Regions from separate parts of the Homo sapiens genome. Here all the other regions are linked to region 3. The links are contacts of gene promoters, found by promoter capture Hi-C in human tissues and cell types (Jung and others, 2019). All regions are on one chromosome and are shown on one strand. Each heading gives the region's core, a stretch centred on a gene start or on the middle of the fragment in contact. The rest is flanking DNA. Distances are from core to core; before and after follow the strand shown.

What was found. Contacts are between HindIII fragments. The study calls those that stand out against the background at their distance.
Region 1: a contact is called between a fragment that was not itself captured here and the fragment with the promoter of PEX5L in region 3, in 1 of the 25 tissues and cell types used here (hippocampus).
Region 2: a contact is called between a fragment that was not itself captured here and the fragment with the promoter of PEX5L in region 3, in 1 of the 25 tissues and cell types used here (hippocampus).

The regions. Positions count from the first base shown.
Region 1 is chr3:180,000,636-180,003,335 of GRCh38, forward strand. All of the region lies in intron 1 of PEX5L (peroxisomal biogenesis factor 5 like), which reads right to left. Among named protein-coding and RNA genes, the nearest start is that of PEX5L, 35 kb to the right of the region's middle. The HindIII fragment of the contact is 9,703 bases long and covers 1-2,700 here.
Region 2 is chr3:179,977,548-179,980,307 of GRCh38, forward strand. The region is part of intron 1 of PEX5L (peroxisomal biogenesis factor 5 like); the gene reads right to left. It overlaps LOC124909463 (a long non-coding RNA gene), which reads left to right. Exons shown (of 2, transcript XR_007096182.1): 2 at 2,014-2,497. Among named protein-coding and RNA genes, the nearest start is that of PEX5L, 58 kb to the right of the region's middle. The HindIII fragment of the contact is 6,006 bases long and covers 1-2,760 here.
Region 3 is chr3:180,035,653-180,038,352 of GRCh38, forward strand. It overlaps PEX5L (peroxisomal biogenesis factor 5 like), which reads right to left and starts at 1,285. Exons shown (of 15, transcript NM_016559.3): 1 at 927-1,285. The coding sequence starts at 947. RefSeq lists a silencer at 1,351-1,400. The HindIII fragment of the contact is 6,291 bases long and covers 1-2,700 here.

The sequences.
Region 1 (2,700 bases), core at 78-2,577, 35 kb before region 3:
TTCTTTTGTTAAAAACATGTTTGTGCATGTATATACTTGTACTAAGAAGATATGTTGATTTTATTTCCTTTTTCCCTTATCACGTGACATCAGATTTATTGATTTCATACCAGCATTTAAGTATTGTTAACTTTATGTAGTAATATTTAGGTTGGGGATTGGTGCATTTCTGGTTGTACGAGGATAGTTGTATTATGTTAGGTGTAATTATGACCTTATTATTGTCTTTATTGAAGATTATGTGTGATCTCAGGAGATATGTGTGGGTTCAAGTTGACAAGGGGTGGACTTGTGATGGTTAATATTGAGTATCAACTGGATTGAATTGAAGGATGCAAAGTATTGATCCTGGGTGTGTCTATGAGGGTGTTGCCAAAGGAGATTAACATTTGAGTCAGTGGGCTGGGAAAGGCAGACCCACCCTTAATCTGGGTGGGCACCATCTAATCAGCTGCCAGCTTGGCTAGAATACAAAGCAGGCAGGAAAATGTGAAAAGACTAGACTGGCCTAGCCTTCAAACTACATCTTTCTCCCGTGCTGGATGCTTCCTGCCCTTGAACATCGGACTCCAAGTTCTTCTGTTTTGGGACTTGCACTGGCTCTCCTTGCTCCTCAGCTTGCAGATGGCCAATTGTGGGACCTTATGATCATGTGAGTTAATACTTAATAAACTCCCCTTTATATTCATATATATATATAAAATAAAATATATAATATATATGGATATATAGAAGATATATATATATATCATATTAGTTCTGTTTCTCTAGAGAACTCTGACTTATACACCCACCGTCTCTCTGATAAAAACGAACTTGGTAAATAAACTCTTTGTGCACATGTTAAAAGAAAACAAATTTTTTTTTTGTTGTCATTGCTCATAGAGGAACGCTTCAAACCATATATTTGTAGCTAAACCTATGTACACATCTTTTGGACAGAGGGTTGATAAACAGTGTTCACTACATTTATTTTTCATTGTGCTTTCAAGTAATAACCTGTGAATTTTATTTGAAGTCATTAAGTTTTAATCATTTTTAATAAACTATTTTATGCATATGTTTTATACACATATGCAACTTGACATAAATGCTTTACTGGGGTAATATCATATGTGCTATTTTTATAGTTTAGTCTTTTCTTTTTTGCTTACCTACCCTTCCTGCTTCCCAGTACATTTACATCATCAAATACACACTTATCCATCCATGAATAATCAACAAGATAATGTTTATTTTATCTATATTATCCATAGTCATAGCCAAACACACATATTTGTAGGTAAATATATTTAACCATATACATATAGACGTTAGCTGGGGTTGTCGTTATTTTACAAGTAGTATGATATTGCACTTACTTCTTTGTACTTGTTTTTCATCTCTCAACTATACTTCAAGAACAACCACCTAAATCCATCTTCATAGCTCTATTTCATTCTTTTTAATGCCTGCATGTTATTCTAGGTATGAATGTACCATGAACTTCTCAACTTTTTAAAAAATACGAGCATTCCTTTGGTTTCCTTTTTCTCCTAACTGAACAATGCTGCATTTAGTATCTTTGTGCATATTTCCTTAAGTTCTGGTTGCTTTAGTGCCATGTGATAGATTCCTAGGGATGAGATTGCTGATTAGAAGAGTGTATTTTTTATTTAAAAATTGTTTTACGATGTTGCCAGGTTACAAGCTTGCTGACTGCCACACAAGCCTTTCTTAGTTATGCCTTTTCTCCTATTCTTGACAGAAACAGGTATTATTACTTTAAAAATATTTTTAAGTCTGATGAGTGTAAAGTGATATCTTTCATTGCATTTCCCTAACTATTAGTTAATTTGATCATCTTGTTATATGTATTGATCATTTGAAGGTTCTCTCCTAGAAAATTCCCATTTGTATATTATCCCCAGTTGTAAATTGTGTTTTGGGTCTGTTTATGGGCAATTTGTGAGAACTTTTTGTATAGTATATCCATTTACTCTTTGTCAAATGTGTTGTAAATATTTGTCCAAACCTGTATTTTTCTATCAATATAATCCTTTTGGGGGGCATATTAATTTTTCCATCAAGAAATATATTTTCTTCAGTTTTAACTATAGCTAGAAATTCAGCTGCCCTAGAATTGTGTGAAGACTACCTCACAAATAGTATTTCACAAGAGAAGACTGAGATAATGGCAAATATAATAAACCTCTTCCTTGCAGAAAAAGTTAGGAAGTACAGTAAATAATCTTGCTAAATCAGGAAACAATTGCAATAACACAAATTGTCCCATAAAGATCTAAATTATCTTACATTTTCATAGCTTGTTAAATTTGGAGCGTATTTTATCTTCACATAAATTCTCATTTCACAGGGTAGGAAACGATTATAGATGAGACCAAGGAGTTTCTCTTTTCAAACAGAGAAAAGAACGATAAAAATCGAATTCATTCTGTGTTATTAACGGAGATGTAAACTGACACAAATCAGGTGAGGATTTAGAGCCTGACTTCAAATACCCTATTGAGACTTTTCTAAATAAAGCCAGAAGTCTTAGCAGCTCTGTAAACAAGGTGATTCAGAAAACTCAGTCTCTAAAGGGAGCTTAGCTCATTCTATCCTATCATGTGAAACATGGAAAACATCTGGGATTTAATCCATTATTACAACAATCTGTATTATGCTCCATGCTTATGTGTTTCTGAGTGAGGAGCATAT
Region 2 (2,760 bases), core at 219-2,718, 58 kb before region 3:
GCAGCCAAAGAGGCAATGAAGAGAGAAAACAGGAAGTAAGGAAAAAGGATAAATTTTTCCCAAAAGGCCTGGAAGTAGAGCTTGAGAGTGATCGCCTTTCAAGGACGTAAGCTCAAATAGACCTTTTGAATGGAGAGTAATTGCCTTACCAGTTAAAAATGCAATTTTCAGATGTTTAATTTTTCTTAGGTATGGGGGAGATCAATTTTCTGAAGGGAAATTATTATTTTTACAGAGAATCATTTACAGAGGGGCTGGTTAAGTCTGGCATTTTTTAAAGAACAATTTTTGTCTTGTCTTTTTAAAAGACACTCATGGGCTTTTCCCCCCTCTCTAACTGTGATCATGCTACGGTAAAAGAGAGTGGCCACACAGTACACTTTTTTATTTTTGGGTCAAGCATGGGCAAACAAAACATATGGCAATCAGACTCACTTCTGAATGTACGTTGTTGGGTGAGAAAAGAAATATAAGGACAACAAGTATGTTGTAGCATTTTAAACTGTTTTGCCATATGCATGAGCCCAGACATTTAGTAATTTTTTGGATTTTAAGGTTAAATCTAATTGGAAAATAGGTATTCCAGTTACTAACTAGCTGGATAATAAGATGGCAGGGAATCACAATACTACAGCCTGGCAGTTCCCCCTTAATGCTGGTTTTTCTACCTTTAGGGTGGCTTTTGGTCTGTACATTAATAGCCTGAAGGGTTTATGAAGCATCTTGAAAATATTTTCTATTTTCCAAGATTTCAAAAAATAAGAATGTTCCAACATAAGTATCCATTAAGATTACACAATCTTACATCATTGTCCAGTGACATTTTCTTAAATATACAAATTCAACTTTAGGTATGTACCTTTTAATATATCTTTTCTAGTATTTTATCATGAAAATTTCAAACACACTGCAAAGTTAAAATAATTTTTACAGAGAGACCCTGTGTACTCAACTACCTAGATTCTACTAACTTTTATTATACTTGCTTTTGCCCCAAATTTTTCACCCACTTGACATATTTTTAAAGTATATACACTATCACATTTCTACACATTCTTTCCTTCAAGTTTTATTTTATCTAATTTACTTTTAAAAACTCAGAAAAGTAAGACTATTGTTTCAAAAAGCTTCCAAGATCAGAGCACTAAAGTTTAGGAGTTGTTTTACTGAAAATCTTTGCTTTTATTTGGAAAGCAAATCAGTGAACTATATTCTCACCATTAAGTGTTGTATAGGTCCCATCACTAGGATTAGGAGGAACGATTTCTGATCAAAGCGTTAGGATTTTTATAGCTCTCAGTCAAAAGCTAGTGAGCAAACAACTCAGCTTTCTGGGATTAATCCATGGAATGATAGGCAGTTCAAGATGATATTAATTACCACATCCTCAAGTTTATGTCCTTTGATCATCAATGTTTCCTGCATCTATGAAAAACAGCAAACAACCTCACTATACTCTGGGCTATATAGTATGTAATCACCTCTGGTACCTGCAACGAAAGTGGCAAGTGACTTCTCAGAGGGGTTACATTTGCTTTAAGGGACAGTACTTGGCTGGCATATTGAGATCAAGTAGGCAGAAAACAAAAATTCAACTTGAAATTTCAATTATGTCAGATTCAGCAATGTTCCACATTACTTGGAGGACAATAAGTAAATTCATTTTAATCCTCTTTCACCCTCAAAACCAAATTCAAATTTTAAAAAAAAAACAAAGATAATGTTCTTCTAAACAGAAAATTGAGTCCAGTTTTTCTTTCAGCTGGCATGTTCTTGTCTCCTTCCCTATAGACTTGTCTCTAGAAGTTATAAATGTAATCATAGGATGCAGTGACCAATATGTAAAAAATTGTTTTCTGTGGGCTGAAGATAATGATGATTGAAAAATTATATATTTTAATCTGATAATCTCTCTGGCAGTCTTAAGCAGTCTGGGTGCTATTTCCAAAACAAGATGAAACTAGCAAGCACTCCTTTTTGGTGGTTTTAACCCTGTCATCCCCGACACAACAGGACTGGAATGGTTGTTGGTGGAAGATGGTGCAGAGTCTAAGAGAATTGACGTATTATCTTGGATCCCAGTGGCAAGGGAACACTTCTGTCCTACAATAATCTCTCCCATCCCCAACAGGAAAAAGGTAAATTGTGTATTCTGTTATCTCTGCAGTCTGAGAAAAATAACAAATAATCTATTTTAAGTGAAAATTTATTGCTTGATGTTCTGCTTCTGATCCCCGTTGACACATTATTTTTTATTTTTGTATGCATTGGCCCTATTAGATGGGGATGAAACCTTGTTACAGCAATCTCAAACACAGGTGTACTTATCATTGGCTTTTCCAGCGACTCCTCTTCCTTCTCACTGGCAGCCAGCACACCTGGCATCCCGCACCTGCCACTGACTTCCTTTTAACAACTGATCTGGACATCATGATTTTATGACCTTGCAAACTAAAACGCGATCTCTTTACTGTAATAAAGAAGAAAGAAAAAACCAGCTGCTTCTATAGGCATTCTGTATCCTCACTTAATTTTCCCTCGATGTTTATACCTTCTCTAGACCAGCATATTTTTTTGGAAACTCTGACACATGCTTGAGAAAAATTTGCCTATGAAATTTTGTTTCTGACAAGAATCAACCCAAAGTTTGTGCTTCGGCCATAAAATTCATGCAGAAAGTTATTTATTTTTAAGCTACATGTATGTGACTGAATGGCTTATAATCAGCATTTCTATTATGGCTCAAATGACTTTTGAGGG
Region 3 (2,700 bases), core at 35-2,534:
CCTCAGTATTCATAAATGTTATACACCAGGATAAAGGCATCACACATAATGATTGTATTTGACCATCTTTGGAATGGAAAGGAAGCCCAAACATCAAACCTGATGACTAAACCATTTAGGTGCGATAAAGAGTCCAGTTCATACTTTAGAAAGCTGAGTTAGTATTTTATTTTTCTCCCAAAGCATATATCTGCCTTTATAAGAACCAACCAACCGTATGAATGAGAACTGGAGTCAAGGTTAAAGTAATCTTGCCCAAGAGAGTAGAGTGTGTTTGCATCGGAAAGAAGCAGCGGCTCAGCTCAGATGAATATTAATAACAACCGGAGGCAGCACCTCCCCTGAAAAACATTAGAGCTCCTTGGACATGTGTTTGAAATTCATCCTCCCAAGTCATCCTGTGACTATTGGAGTAGATGGCAATGTCCCATAATGTGAAGGGGGAAAATACACTATAAATCGTTTTTTAAATATAACACTTTAAAAAATGAAACGAAAGTGACAGAGTGTTCTAAGTCAAGCAACCTTTTCAGATGGTAAAGGAAAAGCTTTGTCTTTCCTATTATTGTTTGCCCTTCAGTTGACATACATGCTGAGATGCATCAATAGGATTACAACGGAAACACGGTCATCTCTAGGGTTTCCTCTGTTTCGATTCCTTGATCCTGTTTAAAGAAACAGGCTCAGGGAATGCACAGAAAACAAACTTCCCCAATCGAAGTTCTGAGGTCTTCCCTCCCCTTCTCCCACCTTCGGAAACCGGTCTAGTTTTCCCGGCAGCACCGGACAGAAATGTCACGGTCATGTTGCATCACTTCACTTGTTGAGCTGTGCGAAGGCAGCACTTGACCACAGAAACTTGGTGAACCGCCTTGCTCTTAAATTAGCCCCCAAGAATTCTCTCCAGCCCTATAGAAATGTCTTACCTGCATGTGTCCCTGGTACATTCTGCTTCGGTTTCTTCAGGGCTCCCTGAGGCCACCGGATGCTTTTCCCCCGTGCTTACTTGCCCACCAAAAGAGGGGAAAAGGTGGGTGCACAGCGGGTTCTCAGAGGGTGCTCCTGAGCCCCCTGGAGCTCCGGGTACTCGGCCGGCCGGCGGCCACTCGGCAGCGCTGCGGGCTGCCGGGAACTGTTCTCCGCTCGGGGTGCTGAAAGCGGACGCGGGAGAGCGCGCAGAGAAGGCGAGGAGCCGGGTCGGCCAGGCTCTCCTGCAGGCGCGGGTCCTGCTCGCGGGGCGTCTCTAGAACTCACTCCTTCTTCGCCGAACTCTTTCTCGCTTCCTGCCAGGTTGCCTCATGTCTCTCTCTCTCTGAGCTGCGAACCCCCTCCTCCCAGCCCTGACGTGAGCGCCTACACCAGCCGCCGCCGCAGCTGCCGAGCGGGGCGCGCGCCGTTCTCCCAGCCGCGTGCCTGCCGAGAGGCCGCGGGACCGGGCACGCGCGCGCGTTCCCAGGGGCCTGGGAGCGGCCCGAGGGCGGCCCCGGGCGGTGCGCGCTCCCCGAGCGCGTCCTCGGGGCTGCGCGCGCGCGGCGGCAAGGCGAGGTGCCGGCAGGCGGTGGTCGCGCTGGTGTACAACGCCCGCAGCAGCGCGGCGTTCAGGTGCGGCGTCGGCGGGCAGGGCGATTCTAGCGGAGAGGATGGCCGGCCGGAAGAAAGGCGGGAAGACATGCATCGTCTCTCCGGGGGCCATCCACCGCGGCTGAGCCTGTTATCCTACAGACATTATAGGCTGAGTGCAGGGGTTGCCGAAGAGTTTACTTCGGTTCTGATTCAGCTCTCGAAAGTTACGTCCGTATCACCCGTTAAATAAAGACTCCCCGCTCCCCTCATCCCCAGTTCATCGCCGAGCATTCTATTTAAAACGGCAAACCCTAGTCCCTGAGGATCTGGCATGTTTTATTTTTTTCCCTAGCACGTAACATCACCTAACATCCTTTATATTTTCCATATTTATTTTATGTACTGTCTGTCTCTCCCTCTGTACAATGTTATTTCCATGAGATCAGGGACTTTTTTTTAGGGGGGTGGAGTGTTGCACTTGGTTTTGCACGTGTGTGCACAGTAAGGTATTTAGTACTTCCTGACACATGGCAGGCACACAATAAATATTTGCTGAATGAATAGACCTTTACTACTATACACTTACACACACATACACACATATATGAAGAGTGCATTTAAATATGTCTCAAGTTGAGACTGGGTAGTTTGATGTGTCTACACAATAAATGTTCATATATACACACACACCACGGGGTGGTGTATACTGTGATTACCTAATTTTGTTGGTAAAAACATCTCCAATTCTACAGGCCCCTCATATTATGTACAGCATGATATCCCCAAAATATTGCATATAGCATAATATGCTTTTTATAAAGTTTAAAAAATCCCTAGAAATGTCAATGTGTATTCATATATTCATATACAACAATATAAAAAGGAAAGCAGTGGAACAATGAATATAGTGTTCAGAGTGTTGGTGACCCTGGGTGAAGGGAGGCAGGGAAATAGATGGGGAAGCATTTCACTTGAAGTTTAGATGTTAATGTCTTATCTTCTATGCCGGGTAGTGATTCATAGGACACCTAATATCCTATTAAAAATTACTGTGTAACTAAATAAAATAGAACCATGTATGGACTAATGAGGAGAATGTGAAATGAACAAAAGGATGTGAAATGAACCAATTCAATG